2 separate regions of the Homo sapiens genome follow, and region 2 is linked to region 1. The links are contacts of gene promoters, found by promoter capture Hi-C in blood cells and fetal thymus (Javierre and others, 2016). All regions are on one chromosome and are shown on one strand. Each heading gives the region's core, a stretch centred on a gene start or on the middle of the fragment in contact. The rest is flanking DNA. Distances are from core to core; before and after follow the strand shown.

Region 1 (3,430 bases), core at 529-3,028:
AGTCATATGGCAGTTCTGTTTTTACCTTTTGAGGAACTTTTATACTGTTTTTCATAATGACTATACCAGTTTACATTCCCACCAACAGTGCACAAGGGTTCCCTTTTCTCTGCATTCTCACTAACATTTATCTCATCTTTTTATTTAATTTTTTTTTGAGACATAATCTCACTCTGTAGACCAGGATGGATTGCAGTGGTGCCTTCCCAGCTCACTGCAGCCTCCACCTCCCGGGCTTCAGTGATCCTCCTGTCTCAGCCTCCCAAGTAGCTGGGACTACAGGCGTGCACCACCACACATGGCTGATTTTTATAATTTTTATAGAGACAGGGTCTCCCCATGTTGCCAGGTTGGTCTCGAACTGCTGGGCTTAAGCATTCCACCCGCCTTGGTCACCCACATTGCTGGGATTATAAGCATGAACCATAATATCCATAGCCATAATAATGGCTATCTCTTGCTTTTTTGATAATAGCCATCCTAACAGGTATGAGGCGATATTGCATTATGATTTTGGTTTCCTGATGATTAATGATGTTGAGGCCCTAGAAAAAGTACTTTTAATGATATTGGCTTCCCTCCTGCTTTGGGTGGTTCCATTTAGCCTAGGTCAAAATCACATTGTAGACCAGATGTTTGGTGTCCCTACCCTGCAGTCCCTGAACTTGGACTGTCCTGGGACAGACCCCACTTGGTAATGCATCCTAAACTTTACTTTGGCTCAGTTCATATCTTTTCTCCTACAGTGAAGAGTTCATAGGGAAGACATGTCATAGGAAAATTGGTTTTATAACGTGATGCCAGGAAGAAAAGTTTGTCCTTGGCCAAAAAAGTATTTATTGACCTGAAAAGGGAAGAATAGCAGAGAGCACTTCCCCATCATCTTTCATGTTTGTCGGGCTTGTCATGAGAAGCCCTCACCCCTTTCCCACCTCTCCCTTCCCTGTGCCTCTTTCTACTTTCGATTCTCCCCTGTTATCTCCCTTGTTATCTATCTGATGGAGCCAGTGTGGGCACTCCACAGTCCAAATGGAAGCTCAGTCCCTCCGGGTTGGCAGTGTGGCTGACACCTAACAGTCTGGGAAGTGGGAGAAATTCTAGAACCCAAGGCTATTACCGACCCTCGACTTCCCACTTCCCATAAGTGTTCCACACCCAGTGAGTGATAAGGATGGGATCAGGGGATGCCCCCAAGCTGTTATTAGCAGCCTCTGGCAGACAGAAGGGCAAAGAGCTAGAGAAGAACGCTGGACATGGGATGGGCTGGCAGAGCTGGCCAGACAGAACCCTGGGTGGACACAGAGTTGGGAACAAGCTGGCCAGGAGATGTGGCAGAGAGGCACCAGTTACTTTCCCAGGTGAGTTAATGTGCCAGTGTTTCCAGAACTTCGAGTCGCTTCATCTTTATCCAGCACCCACCCCTCACCTTCCGCATCCTGAAGAAGAGAGATGGGCAACTGGAGGGCTTCCATGCAGATCCGGCTCTACACATAGGTTTGAGAGCATACTCAGCAGTTTCTCATCCTGGTCCAGGCGATATTTATAGAGGGACCAGTGACATGGAGCTGGAAGCCTACTACTGGTGACTAAGAAGGGGGACAATGCCACTGGCTCAGCAGAGGGAATTCCCTGTGGGGCTGTCCCTCAGGTTCTCATCCCAACCCCCACCCCCACACTGCACTCACACCTGCTTCGACCCCAAGCAGATCAGATGTGGCAGTGGGGGGTCATGTGACGGAGAGGGGTCTATAAATAGCTGGAGGTGGGCATGCTGCCCCAGACGCCTTGGGGACAGCAAGAGCAGAGGCTTAAGGAGCTACACTGGGGGAAGGACAGGGGCAAGCAGGCCAAGGCCTGGCCGGGGCTCGGGGGGAGGGAATATGGAGCAATCCCGGTCACAGCAGCGTGGGGGTGAACAAAGCTGGTGGGGTAGTGACCCCCAGTACCAGTATATGCCCTTTGAACACTGCACCAGCTACGGACTGCCCTCTGAGAATGGGGGCCTCCAGCACAGGCTCCGGAAGGATGCAGGCCCCCGCCACAACGTCCACCCCACACAGGTAAAGTGCTCTAAGGGGAGAGGGGAGCCATGGATGAGGGGAGACAGTGGTGCCAGAGACTGGTGAAAATGAGGAATTGGGTGAAAAGAGGGAGCAGTGTTACATTTTTTTAACTTAAAAAACAAGTACGTGGTGATGTGTTCAAAATATGAAAATCTTTGAAAGTCTGGGCTCACTTAAGTATGCACTTAGAGAGATATGCATGCACTTTCATACAACCTTTACCAACAGAGTACCCAAATCATATGGGGAAACAGCAGAGCCTCACATGCATGAATAGCTCGTGCTTACATAACCTACGTGGAGTGGATTGCGTAGGAGCCCACACTGCAGTGTGCTGGGAGCTGTCTCCCACACCCTCACCCACAGGTAGACACTGCCAGATTTCTGCCTCTGGGACCCTCTGCAGAATACACACAAACATGAATCTTTCTGCAGAAGGCAGAAGAAAGGAATTGGGCAAGTGTAGAAAACAGACTGAATTGCTTATCAGTGATCAAAGATCTACCAACGTCAAAATGAGCAGAGATGTACAAGCTTTTAGGTCGCAAGATGATCAAGTAAGAACCTATTAAGTGTTAGGCACCTGGAAAAGGGCAGAGATGTGATCCCAGCAACAGAAGCATGCAGGCTAATTAGGAGTGTCTATGGATGAGCAGCCTCCCGCTGTGGGATTGGTGGGATATGAACACCTAGGAAAGGGGGAATGGGGATGGGCACAACTAAAGGAAAGGTTGTGAAATTGTCATGGAAAAAGATAGGTCATGGTTAATAAGTAAGTGTGCCTCTCCCTCCAAAGAATGCAGAGAATAACAGAGGATAGAATTTGTCTAGAGGGCAGTTGGCCAGAACTTTTTTTTTTTTTTTTTTTTTTGAGATGGAGTCTCGCTCTGTCTCCCAGGCTGGAGTGCAGTGGTGCTATCTTGGCTCACTGCGACCTCCGCCTCCCGGGTTCAAGCAATTCTCTTTCCTCAGCCTCCTGAGTAGCTGGGATTACAAGCACCTGCCACCATACCTGGCAAATTTTTGTACTTTCAGTAGAGACGGGGTTTTGCCATGTTGGCCAGGCTGTCTCGAACTCCTGACCTCAGGTAATTCACCCGCCTTGGCCTCCCAAAGTGCTGGAATTACAGGTGTTAACCACTGTGCCCAGTCTGGTCAGAACTTAAAAGGCTTTTTTTTCTTTCTTTTTTTTTTTTTTAACAGGGAGCCTTCAGTTCCTTTAGGTTTAAGGCTGGGAAGCTGAGGCATGAGCTATGCAGGGGATCTCAGCACTGGGGGTCAAAAGGATCTGCTCTCAGTCCCTGACCAACCCCCAGGAGTATTTGCAAAGGCAGCGCTAGGGACCCAGTAGGGAAGAGGGACATACA
Region 2 (3,430 bases), core at 251-2,750, 430 kb before region 1:
TGGGAAGCCATAATTCACAGAAAGAGACCATCCCCAACCCAGAATCCTTCAGCAAAAGAAAACACAGGGGCCTCCAGGCAGCCTCCCCGGTCAGGCTAAAGCAGGCTCCTACTCTTGGGGTCAGAGAAAAACCCTAAGGCACAAAGACTTCAGGCTTTCCTCTATGACCAGACATCTGCCTCCTTCGTGACCCAGGGAAAGCCCCAACAGGCAGGACTTCCTTCTAGCATGCCACCAACTGGGTAGAGAACTCTATTAGAGACCTTGAAGAAGAGACCACATGCAGGGATAGCCCTGAGTTCCGATTCCCTGCTCCTCTCCTGCTCTGTACTCCAAGCTGTCATGGTGAAGAAAGCAGGACACGGGTTTAGGAAGTTTTCAGGGGCTGGAAGCCACCAGTGAATGTCCTTAGGGCTTAAACGCTAGAGTCTCGATTTCCACCACCTGAATGCGGAAGAGCACAGGTCCTCGGAACATCTGTTATTTTGACCCGCTTCCCCTCAGTCCCCACCCGCACTGAGAGAGAAATACACCTCAAGGTTGGGTTTGAGCGTTGTAGGTCTTCATATCCCCCCAGTGCTGGGCAAATAGTAAGGCCTTGGTCAGTGTCTGATGAGACAGATACATAGGAATGGTCACTTTTTTCACATTTTGTCTTATTTTCTGGTTCCTGGTGTCCGCGGTTCTCTCTGCTTCATTCATTCAATCGTTCACTCATTCCTCCATGCGAACATATGTATACTATGTGTTCCTGCCAGAGAGACTGTTCTAGAGGCAAGCAGTGGAGATACAGAAGGCATTGTCCTCACCTGCCGTCCCCTCTTGGGTGGAGGGGCTGTGATGCTCTATCCTTACAAGCCCCAGCAAGACGCCTGGCCCTTAGAGAAGTACTCACAAGAGGCTTGCAGAATCGAATTAGATCTTAAGATAGTGAACACCTGTGCCCATCTCAACCCCATCCTCTTTCACCAGCCCTACAGGCTGAGGCTCTTAAGACAGAATGCTCCCAAGGAGCCAGTCCGGGCCTGGGAGCACCATCTGTCCAGCCAAAGGTGCCAAACAAAGACGGGAGGTGAGGGAGGGGTGAGGGGTAGAGGTGCAGGCCTGGGGAGGTGGGGAAGGGAGCAGACCAAGGGGGCCTTACCTCTTCTGCTGCAGCAGGTTCTGCTCATCTCGGCTCTGGGCCCAGGACTCCCGTCTCTGGAACCATCTGCAGAACTTGCTCCATAGGCAGAGAATTAGCCCTTTCTCCTTGGGCAGTGACAAACCCATGGGGTGTAGGGCCGGCTCCTTGGGGGCCTGAGGCCGAGGCCAGACCCTGACGGGACTCAGCCTTGGGGCCACATCAGCCCCCCCAAGGGCCGGCCCACCGTCTCCCTGTAGAGGTCCCGTCTCCTGTCTCCTGCCTTCCTGACGAGTTCCTTGGGAGTCTCCCAGCAGCCCCAGCCAGTTTGGAGAGGGCTGTGAGTTTGTTACACTTGGCAGAGCCAGCCAGGACTCTGCAGGGCTGGCCTGTCTGGAGCTCCTGCTGGGAGTGAGCAGGAGGAGCCAAAGCTGCACGGACACGCCCTCCCTCCTCCCAAATTACCTGAGATTTAAAGACACAGGCCAGCCACAGACCTGCCTACCAAGGGGGACTTGTGCCAACTCCAATTCTTTCTCCACCCAGGGCTCTCTCCCTGCCCCCAGGCCAGTCACAACCAGGGAGGCCTTCAGAAAGACTGGCGAGGCCTCCCTTGGACGTCAGAACACCCAGTGACCTACCCTGAGAGACTCTAGGCAGTGAGAAAGGAGGGGAGGAGTCAGGGCAGGCCCATTCCCAATGTTGAGGACTCCCAGGAGGGAGCGCCCCACTTTCCCACAGTGCCTCTTCTGCCGACCACCTGCCTCACTCTCTGCCTCCCCCTGCTTATGTCCTGGAGAATTCCATTTTCTGGACTCTTCCAGTTTCATTCTTGCCAGGCCTGAAATAGGTATATAAATTGCGAAGATACTCAGTTCTCCCAGACTTTCCTCTCAGTCCCCATCACCTTTGGGTCAGCAAACTTTTTCTGGAAGGGCTGATAGGAAATGTAAAGATGTTAGGTTTTGCAAGCCATGTACACTCTCTAATGTACGTTATTCTTTGGTTTTGTTTTGGTGGTTGTTTTCTAACCACCCCCAAAGATGTAAAATGCATTCTTCGCTCACCAGCCAGGGCACAAAATCTAGCTCTGGGCAGACCCCCTGCTCAGGAGCTCCACAGACTGTCCACAATGCCCCGTGCATGGGGTGGGTGCCCGATAAAATACAGGACACGTGGTCAAATTTGAATTTTAGATAAACAACAAAGAATTTTTTAGTATAAATATACCCCACGTTTTGCAAGTATTCTATCTGCCAGCCTTCCCGTGGAGGTGACATTCAGCTGCTACTGTGTGCTGGGCCTTTTAACTGAGCGTTCCCAGGTAAACTCGTAACAAACCTGCAAGGCAGGTATTATTATCTACATTGTATTGATGGGAGAAACCAAAGCTCACCATGGTAAAGGAACTCTCCCAAGGCCATAGAGGTGGCAGAGGCAAGATTCACACCCATCCCTCATTCCAAGCCCACTTCTTTCTCCCTAGCACACCTCCTCATTCTAACTGGCCAACAGAGCTTCAGAGAGGTTAAGTGACTCGCACAGTCATACAGAAGAATGATGGCATTAAGCATGGCCCATCGTCTTCCCACAACAAAGAGCTCCATCATGAGCTTGCTGGAAGCTGTCGGAAAGGTCATTTAGTTCAACTTTTCCACTGGAAAGGGGCAGAAGCCCGGGCTTATCCAACCTCCTGGTGCCAGCCAGGTGCCAATAGCCTAGGGGCAGGTGTCTGGGTGTTCAGAGTCACAGGTGTGTGGATCACTTCCTAGCTTCAGAGTCTGTTTTGTCCTAACTTTCTCTGACTCAGAGTTGGAAGACCCAGCCAGGGGAGTGTGTGTGTGGCGTGTGTATGGCGTGTGTGCCCATGTGCATTTGTGTGTGGTGTTTATGCGTGTGTTCATGATGTGCATCGGTGGGGTGTTTTGTGTGTGGTATGCTGTATGTATATGATGTGCCTGTGGTGTGTTTGGTATGTGTCTACGTGTGTATGATATATGTGATATGTGTAGGTATGGCCTGTAGAGCGTGTGGATGTGGTGTCTGTGATGGTATGTGTGACATGTGTGTTGTGTATATACGTATTGTGGAAAGATTGTTGCATGTGTGTTGTGTGTATGGTGTGTAGTGGGTGATGTATATGGTACCTTTAAGGTATGTGTGCGTGTACATGATGTGTGTGTGTGTGTGTGGTGTATACATGATTTGTGTAGTGTATGGTGGGTTTACTATGTGTGTATGTATGGTGTGTGTTGTGTGTGTATGTATGTCATGGGGTGTGTGTCATATGTGCTGTGTGTGGGGGGA

Evidence for each region. The method cuts DNA at HindIII sites, captures the fragments that hold promoters and counts their contacts. A CHiCAGO score of 5 or more calls a contact.
Region 2: the fragment with the promoter of TRPV6 here is called in contact with the fragment with the promoter of CLCN1 in region 1 in 2 of 17 cell types (neutrophils and monocytes); the score reaches 5.4 in neutrophils.

The regions. Positions count from the first base shown.
Region 1 is chr7:143,314,333-143,317,762 of GRCh38, forward strand. It overlaps CLCN1 (chloride voltage-gated channel 1), which reads left to right and starts at 1,779. Exons shown (of 23, transcript NM_000083.3): 1 at 1,779-2,060. The coding sequence starts at 1,881. The HindIII fragment of the contact is 3,265 bases long and covers 1-2,595 here.
Region 2 is chr7:142,884,245-142,887,674 of GRCh38, forward strand. TRPV6 (transient receptor potential cation channel subfamily V member 6) reads right to left here and starts at 1,501. Exons shown (of 15, transcript NM_018646.6): 1 at 1,145-1,501. The coding sequence starts at 1,392. The HindIII fragment of the contact is 18,692 bases long and covers 1-3,430 here.